Regions from separate parts of the Homo sapiens genome. Here all the other regions are linked to region 6. Evidence: promoter capture Hi-C in 16 types of primary human blood cells and fetal thymus (Javierre and others, 2016). All regions are on one chromosome and are shown on one strand. The core of a region is centred on a gene start or on the middle of the fragment in contact, and the rest is flanking DNA. Distances in the headings are between cores, read along the strand shown. Region 1 overlaps DENND4B (DENN domain containing 4B). Region 2 overlaps GATAD2B (GATA zinc finger domain containing 2B). Region 3 overlaps GATAD2B (GATA zinc finger domain containing 2B). Region 4 overlaps NUP210L (nucleoporin 210 like). Region 5 has its middle 4.3 kb from the start of PGLYRP4. Region 6 holds the start of S100A13 (S100 calcium binding protein A13).

Region 1 (2,872 bases), core at 349-2,848, 310 kb before region 6:
CACCAGGGGAGGCTGGGAGGGACTCCAGTGAGACAGGGAGAGGTAGGACTATGGAACAAGGGAAGGGCAATGGGGATGGGAGCCTGGTGGGCCAGGGGCCAGGAAGGAAGGACTGAAGTTGTATGTACTTAGTCCTTACAGATGCGATTTCATGTGCTAGTGCTGCTCCTTGCTAGCTCTGAGAGCTTAGGCAGGTTTTTGAGCTCCTCTGGGCCTGTTTTCCTCATCTGTCAAATGGGGAAAATAATTCATCCTCATAGGATGGTCGAGATTAAATGAGATAACCCATGTGACAGACTTAACAGAGTCAGTCAGTGGTAGCTTGTATAACTATTTTTTTTTTTTTTTTTTTTTTTATAGACAGAGTCTCTCTCTGTCACTCAGGCTGGAGTGCAGTGGTGTGATCTTGGCTCACTGCAACCTTCGCCTCCTGGGTTCAGGCAATTCTCCTGCCTCAGCTTCCTGAGTAGCTGAGACTATAGGCATGTGCCACCACGTCCAGCTAATTTTTGAATTTTTAGTAGAGATGGGGTTTGACCATGTTGGCCAGGCTGGTCCTGAACCCCTGACCTCAGGTGATCCACCTGCCTTGGCCTCCCAAAGTGCTGGGATTATAGGCATGAGCCACCGTGCCCAGCTGACCCTTAGTGTTTATTAATGAGTATGAGAGCCATAGAAGGCATGCAGGATTGTTGCTGACCATGAAATAAGGCCAAAGGCCAAAGAAAGGGCACAGGATTCTGGAGGGCAGAGTTCAGCAAGAAGAGGTGGGCCCTAGTGTTAGAGTTTGACAAGGCTGTGGGTACAAGGCAAGTTCAGGGGATTAGATAGGCAGATCTGGCAGGATTGGGTCTTTGTCCTCTACCCTGACCTCTCAACATCTATCTTTGCTCTCTGTGCCAAGGGTGTTGTATGAGGGGAAGGAACGTCCCAAGCCTGGCTTCCAAGTGCTTGACACGACACCCTACAGCCACTCAGCAAACCTGGCCCCTCCAGGCCCCGGGCACCCCCGCACCTACCTCACTTACCGGCGGGCAGCAGAGGGGGCAGGGCTGCATGCCCTGGGCATCACTGACCTCTGCCTGGTGCTGCCCAGTAAGGGCGAGGGCACTCCTCATACTTACTGCCGGCTGCCCCGCAACCTCAACCCTGGCATGGTGAGTGGGGCCAAGAGCTGACACCTGGTCCTCTTGGTGTAAGAGTGGGTGTGGACACTGGGAACAAAGGGCATCCCAGGACCAAGGCTCTGACCACAGGGGTGAGTCCAGAGGGGTAACTCTGGTCTTGGGGCACTGGGATTAATGGGAGCTTTAAAGACAAAAGAACATTTAGGGGTGGTAGAGAGAAAGTGGACCCCAGAAACCTTTGTTAGCTATGTATCTGCTTGTCTCTTGCCATTTCTGGGGTAGTGGGGCCCAGCAGTGTACCTGTGCTATAAGGTGGGCCTGGCGAAGGCCAACACGCTGGTGTACGAGGCAGGTGAGTGGCCCCTTTATCCCTCCAATCCTGTGACCCTACATCCCTTTGCCCTGGTGCCTCTTGGCAGGCACCTTAAGTGTCCCCAGAGTTTACTTTCTCTTTGCTACTCGGGCCTTCTCTGGGATCCCTTGGTTCATTTCCCTTGGAGTCTGATGGACCCTGCTCCTTTTGGGTACCCCCAACTATGCTGGGGGTGCAGAGCTGCTGGGCCGCTACCCGGAGGAGGACAATGAGGCGTTCCCGCTGCCCGAGTCAGTGCCCGTCTTCTGCCTGCCCATGGGGGCCACTATCGAGTGCTGGCCTGCCCAGACCAAGTACCCCGTGCCCGTCTTCTCCACCTTTGTGCTCACGGGTGCAGCTGGTGATAAGGTGGGTGTGTGGAGTGTGGCAAGGGGTCCAGGCTATGCAGGGCCTGCCTGACTACCCTTCTGCCCCCTGCCAGGTGTATGGTGCCGCCCTGCAGTTCTACGAGGCGTTCCCAAGGGCCAGGCTATCAGAGCGACAGGCACGGGCACTGGGCCTGCTGAGCGCCGTGGAGCGGGGTCGGGCACTGGGGGGCAGAGCTGTGCGCAGCCGGCGTGCCATCGCTGTGCTGTCCCGCTGGCCTGCCTTCCCTGCCTTCCGCGCCTTCCTCACCTTCCTTTACCGCTACTCCGTCTCAGGCCCCCACCGCCTACCCTTGGAAGCGTGAGCATGGCTCCTCTGCCATTGGGAAGGGGTTAGGAAGGGATAAGGGGGCCAGGAGAGATGGGAGAGATTCAGATGTGGGTGGGGGGAGGGCTGGGCACAGGGTAAGGGACAGGGCTGCAGTGTGTGGTTATACAGTTTATCCACTGTAAAAACGCCACGGGCTGAGGAGGGGAGCAGGGCCTGAAATCCAGTCTAAACTTACTAGTTAGGTCCTGGCAAAGGGCTGTGTATGCCCAGGGAGGATTTCTTTTCTGATCTGCACAAATTATATGCATAATGGAGGTTCTGTTGGCTGATAACAGGTCTCAAAGTGGGGTTCAGGAAGGAATAAGGTTCTTGAGAACAAGTGAAAGAGCTGAGAAAATGTGGAGGGAGGACAGGGATGGACGGGGGAGTATGCTCTGACCTGTTTCTCTGTCCCCCAGGCACATCTCCCACTTCATTCACAACGTTCCCTTCCCTTCCCCACAGAGACCCCGCATCCTAGTGCAGGTGAGAGCTGAGGCTGGGGCCGGGCTGATGGAAGGAGGGGAGTTGGCATCATTACCCTGAGCCGTGGCTCTTCTTCCCTTCCAGATGTCTCCCTATGACAACTTGCTCCTCTGTCAGCCTGTATCCTCACCCCTGCCCCTCAGGTATGTGATCAGATTGTGGGGAGGGGAGCTTTAATGACCAAGGACATGGTAGGTGCTGGGCAGGTGGG
Region 2 (2,927 bases), core at 396-2,895, 290 kb before region 6:
TGAGAGTGATTTGTAGTTGACAGCAGCATCCATCTTTATGACACTGTGGTTTGCCTTCCCTGACCGTATGTGATGTGTGTTAACTTCCTGTTTAGAGGCAGTCCCAGTAGGGTCTGAATATAGGCTGCACTCAAATACTTTTCTAGGAACAGTGTTAACCAGGTTCCCTGATCAGCCCTTCAAATCTAAATTCTGGCAGTAACTTTTACTGCTGTGCTTAGCATAGGGCCACAGGGTGGTGGCAGAGGGAAGTGTGAGGAATTTGTTCTGAGCCTCACAACCTTAAAGTACTTTCAAAAGCTTGTATGCTGTCCCCCATTTTGGGGTTTTGCCCCCTTCTCCCCTTTTTTTGCCAGACGGGCAAGGCTGGACCTCCAGGTTGAATTTTGGGGACCATTGTGTCAGTGAAGGTATCCTAATCATGTGTTGAGACCTCTGAATTCATCTCACCTTTAAGCAGTGAGTCTTGTGTGTTGCATGTAAAGCATTCCTCCTGTTTCAATTTACTGATTCTTCTTCCTTTCCTCCCCCACCCACCAAGCTGGAGGTGCATGTGGAGGAAAACAGCAGCTGTGCTGTCCTGATTTCTAGACTCTGGAGCATATTCCATGTTAGCCACCCCATTGGGAGTCATGCTGACAAGCAGCCCCTCTGCGCTTAACTTAGAAGGCTCATGTTGCTTGGCTCATTGAGAAAAGCCAACCAGCTTTGGTTGATTAAAACAACTGCTAGAGAAATCGTAAGATTTGAGCCATAACTGGGACTGAGGGACTTTCTTTTCCAGACCTTTGCAGTACTTAAAGCCCTGCATTATTACATATCAAGGCACAATAGCCAGACATTTTCTGAGGTAGTTTGGAGGGAAAGAAAAAGTAAAGACACACACCCAGATTGACTGTAAATCTAGTCCTGGCATAAAGCTGTCCACCTCTTGCTTGGGGAAAAAATCCAGTCTATCAGACAATACCACATAGAGTTGCAGTTCTCCTGCTTTTGGCTAAGCCTAGGAAAAGATATATAAGGAAGTTCAGTTTATGTTACAATGACTGGATTTTGTGGTGTATCTTCTATTAGCCATATTATTTGGTTTATCCTCAGTAGTCTCTGTGAAGCTTTTTCTGTAGGTCCTGTTTGGGGATTTTGGTGGCTCCAGAATCCTTGAAGCAGCAACCTCCTTTCTTTGTGTAGCAGTGATGAAAGCTTCTGAAGAATAGGTCTGATTTGAAACAGACCCCTCCTCATGTTCCATCTTTTACCTTCTCCCTTGTGGATATATGAAATATTCCTGTATAGCTTGAATTCATCCAGTAAGAAGGGAGTGTCCCAGGGTCATTAGGGCTTTTAACCTGTCTGAGGTATTTAGATGGTGGCTTGGTAATGTTTGCTGTCTCTCACAAAATCCCCCTTACCTTTGCCATTTACCTAGGTTGCCATCAGCTGGCAAGAAACTATCAACAGTTTTGGGTTATAGTACAAAAAGCAGCAGATTACTAAGAACACATCATTCGTTACTTTTGAGATATGAAGTGGTCAGATCCAGACCTCAAAGAATCATAGTAACTGCAGAAGCATCTTTGACAATGTGTGAACTTGTTATTAATAATAACTAGTAAACTGCTAAAGAAATTAAGGGAAATTATAGCAATTCCATATTCCTGAGCCATTCTCTTACTGTTTTTCACACCTGGCTAGTTCCATTTTATTTTATTTTATTTTATATTTTTTGAGATGGAGTTTTGCTCTTGTTGCCCAGGCTGGAGTGCAGTGGTGTGATCTCAGCTCAGTGCAACCTCTGCCTCCTGGGTTCAAGTGATTCTCCTGCCTCAACCTCCCAAGTAGCTGGGATTACAGTCACCTGTCACCATGCCTGGCTAATTTTTGTATTTTTAGTAGAGACGGTTTCACCATGTTGGCCAGGCTGGTCTCGAACTCCTGACCTCAGGTGATCTGCCCACCTCAGCCTCCCAAAGTGCTGGGATTACAGGCATGGAGCCATTGTGCCCGGCCTTAGTATCCATTTAAAAAAATAATTCAGGTTACTGTTACCTAAAGCTGAGAGTCGTACTTTAAATCTTTTGATCAAAGCTTTCTTCGGCTTGTCTCATTTCAAGGGAGGGTGGAATTTATAATCTTTAAAAATACATGCTGGAATGTTAGTAGGATTTAGATTAGACACCAGGATTAATAAATTCTCATTATAATTGTGAAGGATTGCAAATGTTAACTGAAAGACTTGTGCATCTCTTGCCCAGAGGATTTTTATAATGTTAGCATTTTTAGAGTATTTAAACTCAAACTTGCTGAAAGAGAGGGGATGAACTAATATGTGGCAGATTGGACTAGTGGAACACAGGTTGTGGAGAGCCTTGAAGTCCTGGGTTGAATTCTAGCTTTGTGATTTATTAGCTAACTGATTTTGGGTAATGCTACTAATTTTTGAATTCTCATTTCTTGCAGACAGAGTAATGCCAGTCCTTGCAATAGCCTTTAAGGCTTTACATGGTTTGCCCTCCCCAACCTCTTCCATTTTTGATCGGCTGTCATCTTCCCTCTTGCTCTCTCCATTCCAGCCACACTGACTTGCTCCTTGAATGCTGATCAGTCACACTCTATCTTAGAACCTTGGCAGGTTCCTAAGACCAAGTGATTCCTTCTAGTGGGAAAACAGCTAGGTTTCCCCACAGAGAATGGCTGATTGCCTCACCTCCTTAACGTCTTTGCTTAAATGTCACCTTTTTAATGAAGTCTTATCCTTCCTTTCTTTAAAATTGTATTGTCAGTTCCCATCCCTCATGCTTATCCTTGCCTGCTCTATTTTCTTTTTCATAGGACTTAACACTTTTATAATATATTTATTTGTTACATTTATTGCCTATTGGTTCTCTTTCTATGATGTAGGTCTTAGAAGGCATGGATTTGTTTTGGTA
Region 3 (2,754 bases), core at 87-2,586, 260 kb before region 6:
CCTAGAGTTGATCAACTCCAGCCGCTTTTTCATCCTCTGCGGCCACCAGCTTTCTGTCTTAGGTTCAGGATGGCCCCCAACCAAGAGCAGCTGCCAGGCTGGCTGGGAAGCAAGAAAGCCTGTTTCTTGTTCTGTCGTTTTTTTTTTTTTTTTTGAGACGGAGTCTTGTTCTTTCGCCTAGGCTGGAGTGCAGTGGTGTGATCTTGGCTCACTGCAACCTCTGCCTCCTGGGTTTATGCGATTCTTCTGCCTCAGCCTCCTGAGTAGCTGGGACTACAGGTGCGTGCCACCACGTCCGGCTAATTTTTTGTATTTTTAGGAGAGACGGGGTCTCACTGTGTTAGCCAGGATGGTCTTGATCTCTTGACTTTGTGATCACTCGCCTCGGCCTCCCATAGTGTTGGGATTACAGGTGTGAGCCACCACACCAGGCCTCTTATCTTTCTTTTTTTTTCTTTTTTTTTTTTTTGAAACAGAGTTTCGCTCTTGTTGCCCAGGCTGGAGTGCAATGGCGCGATCTTGGCTCACTGCAACCTCTGCCTCCCGGGTTTAAGTGATTCTTCTGTCTCAGCCTCCCGAGTGGCTGGGATTGCAGGCATGCCCCCATGCCTGGCTAATTTTTTGTATCTTTAGTAAAGACAAGTTTCTCCATGTTAGTCAGGCTGGTCTCCAACTCCCGACCTCAGGTGATCTGCCCACCTTGGCCTCCCAAAGTGCTGAGATTACAGGCGTGAGCCACCGCGCCCCACTGGCCTCTTATCTTTCTATTGATAATGTAGATGTTTGTAAATTTCCTGTGACTTTTTTTATTTTGTATTCTGAAGAACTTACATACCCAAATAGAGTACAAAGTAATTAACTTTCATGTGCCCACCACAAGCTTCAAAAATTACTAACATTTTGCTATTCTTTACAGTTAATTTTAATGTTGAAAATACAGAGAACATATGAAAATAAGTAACATGTGAGTGTATTTTAAATTTGACGTTCACGCATCTACAACTTTCCTCTTGCCAGCTGTTTCCTTTTATGTTGTCTCCATCTTTCTCATTAGTGTAATTATGAGGGGGGTTAATTGTGTGATTGTCTTGAAATTCCGATAATTGGATGGCTCACAAGTCTACCAAGTTTGAGTGAAGTAAATTCTGAACTTGCCTGCCCAGAGTGATTTATAAATATACATGGTACATTCTTTGTTTTGTGTGTTTTTTTTTTTTTTTTTTTTTTTGGAGACGGGGTTTCGCTCTTGTTGCCCAGGCTGGAGTGCAATGGCACGATCTCGGTTCACCAGAACGTCCGCCTCCTGGGTTCAAGCAATTCTCCTGCCTCAGCCCACCGAGTAGCTGGGATTACAGGGATGTGCCACCACGCCCTGCTAATTTTGTATTTTTAGTAGAGATAGGTTTTTTCCATGTTGGTCAGGCTTGTCTCGAACTCCCGACCTCAGGTGAGCCACCACACCCGGCCTGATACATTCTATTTTTATTCAATAATTAGATCTAGTTCTAGTATAGCCTGTTGAACATAGCAATTCAGTGAGGTGATTATTAAAGTGGAGGGCAAATTAAAAGATTTATGGAAGTCACTGACTGTATGGCTGTGATAACTTACATTTTAGTCTTAGGTTTTCTATTATTACTCCTCATGGTTTGGGGCTCTTAAGTCAGAGATTGAGTAGAACGTCACTATATAGAGGGTAGCTATATATTTTTTTCTTTTTTGCATTGTTTATGATTTCAGAGGATAAAGATAAGAGCAACCTTCACAACAGAAGTGAAAGATGAGAAGCTTAATGTAGAGTAAAATGTCTGAAGCTCTAAGTGAAACTGTTGATAAGCTGGGATTTCTACTCTTGGAACGCTAGAGAGGAAGAGACACTTAGATACTTAGTAACAGCAAAAAGCCAGGCCAAAAAGTAGAACTCAAGTGCTTAGAAACTCTGTGGCAAAAGAGATAAACGTGACTACTAAAACTACTTTCTCTTTCGTCTGTGGCACTTAGTTGATAACAGTTGTTAGCACATTTAGATGTTCAAGTTTAATTTTTGTTGTCAGAAAAGTATGAACATTTGTGACTTGCCTAAAAAGAACTTGGTCCCCCTGCAAAGATAGAGGGAAGGTACAGATCGGAGTGAATGAAAATAATCAGCAATCAAGTATTAAGAAATGAAGTATTTGCACACCTCATCACTGGGAATCAATAGCATGCTGCTGATACAGGATGAGAATAAGTTAGGGATTTAGGACTATTCTAGTTAGGTACTATCTTGTAGACACTACTAGAGATACTTTGTCTTTTGGAAGACAGAAATTATTCTGTAGGTATTAAATACTAATATAATGCTCCATATGATTTTCATGGTTTTTTTTCCAAGGATAGGCAGTGGAATCCCCCAGTTGCCTTAGGAAAATGTATACCACCCTTACAGAAGAGATTGGCCTAGACACATCTTGTGCTGTATGATAAATGAAAAAGTTGATCTGTTTATTTTCTCTGTTCCTGTATGATGATTAAGTCATTGAGTAGTGTATGGCAGTAATTTTTTTTTTTTTTTTGAGATAGAGCCTCACTGTGTTGCCCAGGCTGGAGTGCAGTGGCGCGATCTCAGCTCACTGCAACCTCCGCCTCCCAGGTTCAAGTGATTCTCCTGCCTTAACCTCCTGATTAGCTGGGATTACAGGTGCCTGCCACCATGCCCGGCTAATTTTTGTATTTTTAGTAGAGACAGGGTTTCACCATGTTGGCCACGGTGGT
Region 4 (2,919 bases), core at 20-2,519, 370 kb before region 6:
GCCTGTAATCCCAGCACTTTGGGAGGCTGAGGTGGGAGGATCACGAGGTCAGGAGATCGAGACCATCCTGGCTAACAAGGTAAAACCTCGTCTCTACTAAAAATACAAAAATTAGCCGGATGTGGTGGCAGGCGCCTGTAGTCCCAGCTACTTGGGAGGCTGAGGCAGGAGAATGGCGTGAACCTGGGAGGCAGAGCTTGCAGTGAGCTGAGATTGCGCCACTGCACTCTAGCCTGGGCAACAGGGCGAGACTCTGTCTCAAAAATATATATAAAATAATAATAATAGCAATAAATAAAAATTAAAAATTAGCCAGGCATGGTGGCACATGCCTGGAGTCCTAGCTGCCTGGGAGGCTGAGGTGGGAGGATTACTTGAGCCCAGGAGTTTAAGGCTGCAGTGAGGTAGAATTGCACCACTGCACTCCAGCCTGGGCAACAGTGTGAAATTCTGTCTCTTTAAAAAAAAAAAAAAAAGACAGCTAAGGATTAATCATGGGTAACTGGAAAAACAGTTCCTACCATTGATAAAAATAATGACACCAAGAGGTGGTCTGATACATAAGTTATTAATGATGCTCAAAGCTTGTCTGTCTTTCACAAACCCTTTCCTGAGTTCACCAGCACTGACTACTTCATTCTATATCCCCAGCTCTTAATTGCCCTGCTTGTGTTATATCATTTAATATTCCCTGACATGTTGAATAAGAATGGTATTCTTAGCCAGGGAGCAGTTTCTCACGCCTGTAAACCCAGCACTTTGGGAGGCCAAGGCAGGAGGATCGCTTGAGCCCAGGAGTTTGAGACCAGCCTGGGCAACATAATGAAGTCCCTTCTCTATAAAAAATATAATTTTTTTTTTTGAGACGGAGTCTTGCTCTGTCCCCAAGCTGGAATGCAGTGGTGTGATCTCAGCTCACTGCAACGTCCATCTCAAGCAATTTCCCTGCCTCAGTCTCCCAAGTAGCTGGGATTACAGGTACCCACCATCACACCCGGCTAATCCTCGTATTTTTAGTAGAGATGGGGGTTTCACCATGTTGGCCAGGCTGGTCTCGAACTCTTGACCTTGTGATCCACCCACCTCAGCTAAAAAATACAAAAATTAGCCAGGCACAGTGGCTCATGCCTGTAATCCCAGCTACTCGGGAGGCTGAGGTGGGAGGATCGCCAGAGCCTGGGAGGTCGGGCTGCAGAATGCCATGATCACGCCACTGTGCTCTAGCCTGCACGACACAGTGAGACCCTGTCTCCAAAAAAAAGAAAGAATGGTATTCTCAGAAAACAAGTTTAGTTGTGGTTTCTCTAGGAGTATTTTTCTTTTTATTTGGCATCCTCCTCGTAGTGGCCAATATTGTGCTGATATTGAATACTCAAAACTAAATTCACATTTTCTCTTTTGCTGAATTTGCATGTCACAATTTTCCCTTCCTATCCTAATTCAGTTGGCTCAATAGAGCCTCTGAACCTTCCTGCTCAGTTTTTCCTCTTTTTTTTCCAGGGGTTTATGTCTGCATAATCAAGGTTCGACCGCAGTCAGAGGAGCTGCTACAGGCCCTCAGTGTGGCTGACACCTCAGTCTATGGGTGGGCTACACTGGTCAGTGAACGTAGCAAGAATGGAATGCAACGAATCCTCATTCCTTTCATCCCAGCCTTTTATATTAACCAGTCAGAATTGGTTCTTAGCCACAAACAAGATATCGGGGAGATAAGAGTACTGGGAGTGGACAGAGTTCTTAGGAAGCTAGAGGTATGTTAAGAACTGAACCAAAACAGAACAAGAGATCAGGAATTTGAAAAGATAGTTTTCATTCTCACTTCAAGGGCAAAAGAAGTTACTGAGTGACCTAATAAAAATTACCATAGGAAATGACAAAATCAAATGAAGAAAACCCATCTCCTTCATAATGCCAGGCAGGCTCCCAGAGTCCAAAATCTAGGTCATAAGCTTTGTCAACATACCTAAAGGAGTAAAAAAAGTAAATGATTGGCCGAGCGCGGTGGCTCATGCCTGTAATCCCAGCACTTTGGGAGGCCAAAGTGGGTGGATCACAAGGTCAACAGATCAAGACCATCCTGGCCAACATGGTGAAACCTCTTCTCTACTAAAAGTACAAAAATTAGCTGGACGTGGTGGCGGACACCTGTAGTCCCAGCTACTCGGGAGGCTGAGGCAGGAAAATTGCTTGAACCCGGGAGGCAGAGGTTGCAGGGAGCTGAGATCGCGCCACTGCACTCCAGCCTGGGTGACAGAGCGAGACTCCCTCTCAACAACAACAAAAAAGTAAATGATTTGATTGTCGGCTAGCTAGCTAGAAATCCAGATCTTGACAATTATTGTACTGTATATGTTTCAGATTGGAACATACTGATACAAAGTTGATTTTTCTTCTTTTAAATAAAAGGTTTTATCTTTTCTCCAAGGTCATCTCCAGCTCCCCAGTTCTAGTGGTCGCTGGCCATAGCCACTCTCCCCTCACTCCTGGCCTGGCCATTTACTCTGTAAGAGTGGTCAACTTCACTTCCTTCCAGCAAATGGCATCACCTGTTTTCATCAATATTTCCTGTGTACTCACCAGTCAAAGTGAGGCAGTGGTAGTGAGGGCTATGAAAGATAAGTTGGGTGCAGGTAAGCATCAGAGATTCCTATTTATAATCTAGAGAGGAAAAGAAGAAAGAATGTATTACATTAGTACCCCCCATCTGCAGTTTTGCTTTCCGCATTTCACTTAACTGTCAACCACGGTCCAAAAATAAATGAAAAACTCCTGAAATAAACAGTTTAAATTGTGCACTGTTCCAAATAGCATGAGGAAATCTCACACTGTCCTGCTCTGGTCCCCAACCATGAATCATCTCTTTGTCCAGCATGTTCACACCGTATACACTATCAGCCCTTTAGTCACTTAGTAGCAGTC
Region 5 (2,700 bases), core at 143-2,642, 270 kb after region 6:
GGTGGCTCACGCCTGTAATCCCAGCACTTTGGGAGCACGAGGCGGGTGGATCACAAGGTCAGGAGTTCGAGACTAGCATGGCCAACATGGTGAAACCTCCATCTTTACTAAAGATACAAAAAATTAGCCGGGTGTGGTGGTGCGCACCTGTAATCCCAGCTACTCAGGAGGCTGAGGTAGGAGAACCGCTTGAACCTGGGAGGCAGAGGTTGCAGTGAGCCAAGATCGCGCCATTGCACTCTGGCCTGGGTGGCAGGGTGAGACTCCATTTCAAACAAACAAACAACCAAGCAAGTAAACAAACAAGCAGGCAGAGGTTCCTGCAGCTACCATCAAATCACTGTGCTCTTTCCCAGATGCCTGGGACCCACTGCGGGTCTGTCTTTCCCTTCTCTGCAGCTCCCACTGTGGTCTTTCAGGGAGCTTTACCCCTCCTGTGTTGTAATGGGGGTGTTACAGCAGGCACACAGTGGGACCCGGACTGAGGGACTGAGCTGGTTTTAGTCCTTAGCTTTCTCAGACTTGCTGGTGGTCTTTAGAAGTGATTTCCATGTTCGGGCCTCCATTTTCTTATCCATTACATGAGGAGATTGGGACAGCTGACCCTTAGGTCATTTCTAGCACAGATTCCAAGTTTTGATGGACTCTTGGTGGGCTTCATGACTACTACTAGCCTCATGGCCCCTGGACACTGTCTCCTGGCTTACTTGCTCCACCTGCAGGTGAAGTCAGGTCCCTCTCCTCACAGGGACTCTGATGCCTGAGGCCCAGCCCCACTCAGGCTGCGCACAGCCTGCTGCCTATTCCTCCACTCCCTGTCTTCCTCCTTGCTGGGAGTCCCAAGTGCTCTTCCTTGGAGATCTCTGGGTACGGGTCTCCTAACCACAAGCGCCCTAACATCCCCCATTTCCCCAGTGCTCATTCTAGACTCTAGTGCATTAGGATGACTTACAGAAGCTATCCACGGGTAGCTTCAGACCATTGTTCTACCACGTTTGGGCTCAGTCCACATCAAGCTTTGACCACCCCTGGCATCCTTGTGGCCTCCCTTGACTGGCCATCCTGAGGTCTCTGAGGCCCTCTGCTGAGAGCAGCCGCACTCCCTGCCCCCATGCTGGGCTGCTCCAGCATCCACAGTGAGGACCCTCCAATGATCTGGCTTCTTAGACATTCAACCTAAGCTTCCCCAAGTCTGGACCTCTCCCCCTGTCTCCACCTTGGCTGCCTCTGCTCATCATCCTCCTAATTTCTCAGACATGCCACCTTCAAAATTGAGAAAGCTGGCATTCCCTTTTGTTGCCTGGCTTCTGTTGCTCCAACCCTTTCTCCTCCCCGATCTCTTGGGAACCTGGCTTTTGCGCTCACTATGTCCCTAGGTTCCAGATCTCTGCAGAAATTTTTGGCGAGTATCTCAGCATCTGGCTTTTGGCATCCTCTGCTCTCAGGACTCCCTTTGAAGTCCACAGCCCTTTGTAAAGAATAAAGGGTTTTCACACTCAGCAGGCATTATAATCACTGGCGTTTGGATCTGTCTCCCTCATTATATTATTAACTACTTGAGAGCAGTGTTCTCAATGTACTCATCCCTGGATGATAAGCTTTGCATATGAGTGACACCTGACAAATGTTTGCAGAATAAAATGAATGACTGGCTTGGTTTGGCCAGAACTTATGCTTAGGAGATGGCTATGCCCTGTAATTATGAAGGCGTTGGTGGATAAAGCTAGTTAGAAAAAAAAAAGACGTGCCACACAGAAGCATGAAGGTAAGGAAGGAAGTGGAAGGGAGTGATGGATAAAAGAGGTTGCTCAGAGACTCCTAGTGAGTGAAAGGTGACTCCGGAGTTATCAGAGGGCGCATGCTGCCACCTTGTGGCCTATCTGCATCAGGACAGCCTGTGGGATTCCTTTGGCCCCAGGTTTTTAATCTTTTTGCTCTCTGGACCCTTTTATATGTATTCATAGAAGTTATTGAGTATCCCAAAGAGCTTTTGTGGATTAGATGTATCAGTATTTACTACATTAAAAGTTTAAAAAATTTAAAATGATTTATTAACTCACTTAAAGTACCATTAATAAACACATTACGTATTACCACGTTTTTAAACAATTAAAAATAATTATATATATATGTCAAAAGCTAGTGAGAAGAGTGTTTTTTTTTCACATTTTTGCAGACCTTTTTACTGTATGGCTTCAAAGAAGACAGCTGGTTTATCACATCTACTTCTGCATACAAGGTATTGCTGTATGTTGCTTTGGTTGAAGATTTGAAGAAAATCCAATCTCCCACAGATAAGTAGTTGCAAAGGGGATGAATACATTAATAGCCTTTAAATATATAATTGTGGATATTCTTCTCTCATATTACATCAAAACCCAACAAGTGATGGTTTCTCAAAGGTTAGTTGCAACGTAAAGTCTGAAACCATATCAATGAATTATTTGTTCTCTGTTACATTAGAATCAATTGGTCCCTCTTAAAATTTAATGGATCTTTTATCCAAACTTTGTGACTTCATATATTGATCATTTGGAAAATATTGGTTGACTGAGTTATGTACGTCTTCTAAATGCTGACATCATTTATTACTCTCTATATATACATATTTATATATATCACACACACATATAAATAAACCACATTTGGCCGGGCGTGGTGGCTCACGCCTGTAATCCCAGCACTTTGGGAGGCTGAGGC
Region 6 (2,700 bases), core at 121-2,620:
TTCTTACCCCACAGGAGGCGAGGCAGGGGAGGGCTGGGACCCTTCCCAACACCTGGGAGACAGAGGGGGCCTTGGCAGGGACTTGAGGGCTCCCTGTGGGAGGGCCAGGCGGTCAGGAAGCTCATGGTGGGTTCCCCACTGGCTTCCTCCTTTGCTGAGCTGCCAGCTCTCTCTCCGACCTTCAGTTCATTTGTCTCTCATCACCACCTTCCAAACCCTGTCTCCCCCAAATCCCAAACTGCCCTCACCCTGACTGACTCCTCCCAGATCCTCAGTGCTCCACAGTGCTATGGTCCCCAGCCTCTTGGAGCCCTTCTGAAGACCCCTCTCCCTGAAGCTGGCAGGCCAGGGACTAGCCCAGTGGGGCAGGGTACTCACGGTTGGCCTGGGCCTGAGGTGGGAGCAGGTTCTGGACAGATGGCCAAGGTTGCAAATGTGGCTGCTGGAGCTGTGTGTGGAGACCTGTCTTCAACAGTCCCTCCCCCGCTGACCCCCCCACCGACTCCACCCCTTCACAGACGAACACCCTGTGGGGCAAGGGGCCAGGAGCAGACAGAGGCGCCCTCTGTCTCCTGGGCTGGAACAGGCGGCCCTTGTCTCTTTCCCAGCCTTGCTTGCCCCGTTCCTTTCTCTCCAGGCAGCAGTGGATGGTGCAGGGGAAAGAGGTGGGAAGGAGGTCCTGGGAGGGACACTGGATGTCTTACCCCAAGCTGGGCCTTGCAGTACCTGTGGCTGGCTGTGCTGGTTGAGCCCGGTAAGGGGGGAATTCTGCTGAGGGGGTCTTAGTCTGTGGCTCCTCCATGGGGCCTCACTGAGAGGACCCTCAGTGAGAAACTTAGTCTTGGGAGTCTGAGAACCCACAGAGGGATTTCAATCCAGGACTCTTCTCTGGGGGTCTCAACCTGGATCCCCCTCTGTGTGTGGGGCCTCAGCCTGGGGTTCTCTGAGGGATCTTGGTCTGTAGCATCCTTTGTGGGATCTCATTCCAAGGGGCCTCTGTGTGTGTCTCAGATTGGGCCTCTCAGTGTTGAGCTCCCTTGATTGGTTGCCTCCCTCTTCCCCCCTCAGCATACACACTCCTGATTAGACATGGGTATGGTGGCAGCAGCCCCCAGTATTGAGAGGACTAGGACCCTGGGACCCCTGCCGAACGAGATCTGTCCAGGCAGCTCCTCTCCCTGACCAAGTGGGGGCGCTCGTGTGGCTGGCAGGGAGCCCGGGTCCAGACCTGAGGGCTCAGGGCAAGCGGCCTGATTGGGCTGTCTCTGGTCTTCAGAATCGACCACGGAAATTTGACACCTCCGGGCTTGGAAGCAGCTCTCTCCTCCTTCCCCGCTGCTTATAAACCTCAGCCCTGAGGCTCCAGCTCACTCTACCCCATCTCCTTGCCGGGTGAGTCTCATGGCTGACCCTGGAGGGAGGCTGGAGATCATTTTTTCTTCCTGGGCTCCCAGGTCCCTCCCCCAGAGCCAGCTCAGACAGGAATTCAGGAAGGAGCTTTGGATGATCGAGCAACAGCGCGTGCAGGAGTGTGTGACGGGGTGGACAGAAAAGAGAATGCCTCTTCCAGCCCCACCCGCCGCACCCCAGGGGGTTGTGAGTGCCTGTACTAAACCCGTCCTGGAGCAGGGAGTCAGAGACGCCCCGTTCCAGGACCCTTGTCACCGGGAGACAGGAGCGGGGAGGATCTGTGGGGTCCTGGGTTCAGCACTCTGCCCTGCTGCCGCTGAGGAGAGGTAAGGGTGGAGCGGGGCAGAGAAAATGGGTCTGTTCAGACGGAGCCAGCTCTGACCACAGGGGACATTTGCCAGACCCTGTGCTTCTCTGCTGGGAGGAGCGGTTAGAGTGTGTGTGGGCGGATGCGAGTGGCCGGAGACCAGGGCCCAACATAAACAAGCTTTGGAGACAAACAACCTTATGACCTGTGAGTCTGGGTGAGACAAGAAGGGATTCTTGAGACAGACACGCCACAGAGGGGCCACCAGACTTGAAGGACTCCAAGAAGGACCTTCAACTGAAGACCTCCTCTCAAGTAGAGGGGTCTCCAGATCGAGGGATCACCACAGAGGGGTCCCTAAGCCACAGACATTTAAAAAGGATCCCGGATTGTGAGACCTACAGAAGAGGGGGTTTCTGGAGCTGAATCTCCTGCCCCCACCAAAACTGAGATGCCGTTGCCTGGTCTGCTGCCCCAAGCTCAACCCCTGTCCTCTCCCTCTTTCCCCATATGCCCCCTCCAGGCTGAGACTGATGTGATAACACCAAGGCAGGGACCTTCTGAACCATTCCTGCATCTTGGGGCTCCCTGACTCTCCCTCTCTGCTCCTTCTCTCTTCCACAGGTCAGCCCTGACAAAGGTCAGCTAGCCCCTTGAGGACATCAGCTTTGGCCTCAGGGTCCTAATGGCAGCAGAACCACTGACAGAGCTAGAGGAGTCCATTGAGACCGTGGTCACCACCTTCTTCACCTTTGCAAGGCAGGAGGGCCGGAAGGATAGCCTCAGCGTCAACGAGTTCAAAGAGCTGGTTACCCAGCAGTTGCCCCATCTGCTCAAGGTAGGCAGAAGTCTGGGACTGAGATTTTGTGAGATGATGATTATGGGACACTGTGTTTAGGACGTGATGGTGCCGAGTACGGTGAGGTGACCACAAGAAAGGGTGTGGGTGGCTGCATGTGTCAATGGTTGCAGGTTTTCTTTTG

The links. The method cuts DNA at HindIII sites, captures the fragments that hold promoters and counts their contacts. A CHiCAGO score of 5 or more calls a contact.
Region 1: a fragment that was not itself captured here is called in contact with the fragment with the promoter of S100A13 in region 6 in 11 of 17 cell types (neutrophils, naive CD8 T cells, total B cells and 8 more); the score reaches 10.5 in neutrophils.
Region 2: a fragment that was not itself captured here is called in contact with the fragment with the promoter of S100A13 in region 6 in 2 of 17 cell types (fetal thymus and M2 macrophages); the score reaches 6.5 in fetal thymus.
Region 3: a fragment that was not itself captured here is called in contact with the fragment with the promoter of S100A13 in region 6 in 1 of 17 cell types (total B cells); the score reaches 5.7 in total B cells.
Region 4: a fragment that was not itself captured here is called in contact with the fragment with the promoter of S100A13 in region 6 in 5 of 17 cell types (total B cells, naive B cells, neutrophils and 2 more); the score reaches 10.7 in total B cells.
Region 5: a fragment that was not itself captured here is called in contact with the fragment with the promoter of S100A13 in region 6 in 4 of 17 cell types (M2 macrophages, M1 macrophages, neutrophils and 1 more); the score reaches 6.2 in M2 macrophages.

The regions. Positions count from the first base shown.
Region 1 is chr1:153,941,163-153,944,034 of GRCh38, reverse strand. DENND4B (DENN domain containing 4B) reads left to right here. Exons shown (of 28, transcript NM_014856.3): 3 at 905-1,157; 4 at 1,410-1,479; 5 at 1,679-1,848; 6 at 1,922-2,166; 7 at 2,595-2,661; 8 at 2,746-2,804. Among named protein-coding and RNA genes, the nearest start is that of DENND4B, 4.1 kb to the left of the region's middle. The HindIII fragment of the contact is 4,975 bases long and covers 1-2,872 here.
Region 2 is chr1:153,917,750-153,920,676 of GRCh38, reverse strand. The region is part of intron 1 of GATAD2B (GATA zinc finger domain containing 2B); the gene reads left to right. Among named protein-coding and RNA genes, the nearest start is that of GATAD2B, 3.8 kb to the left of the region's middle. The HindIII fragment of the contact is 885 bases long and covers 1,203-2,087 here.
Region 3 is chr1:153,887,888-153,890,641 of GRCh38, reverse strand. The region is part of intron 1 of GATAD2B (GATA zinc finger domain containing 2B); the gene reads left to right. Among named protein-coding and RNA genes, the nearest start is that of GATAD2B, 34 kb to the left of the region's middle. The HindIII fragment of the contact is 908 bases long and covers 883-1,790 here.
Region 4 is chr1:154,000,567-154,003,485 of GRCh38, reverse strand. It overlaps NUP210L (nucleoporin 210 like), which reads left to right. Exons shown (of 40, transcript NM_207308.3): 36 at 1,501-1,751; 37 at 2,426-2,630. Among named protein-coding and RNA genes, the nearest start is that of RPS27, 11 kb to the right of the region's middle. The HindIII fragment of the contact is 1,365 bases long and covers 587-1,951 here.
Region 5 is chr1:153,351,790-153,354,489 of GRCh38, reverse strand. No RefSeq gene overlaps it. Among named protein-coding and RNA genes, the nearest start is that of PGLYRP4, 4.3 kb to the right of the region's middle. RefSeq lists silencers at 690-739, 1,765-1,814. The HindIII fragment of the contact is 417 bases long and covers 1,184-1,600 here.
Region 6 is chr1:153,626,175-153,628,874 of GRCh38, reverse strand. S100A13 (S100 calcium binding protein A13) reads left to right here and starts at 1,370. Exons shown (of 3, transcript NM_001024211.2): 1 at 1,370-1,392; 2 at 2,342-2,555. The coding sequence starts at 2,403. It overlaps S100A1 (S100 calcium binding protein A1), which reads right to left and starts at 441. Exons shown (of 3, transcript NM_006271.2): 1 at 379-441. RefSeq lists enhancers at 1-296, 1,123-1,948. The HindIII fragment of the contact is 11,281 bases long and covers 1-1,899 here.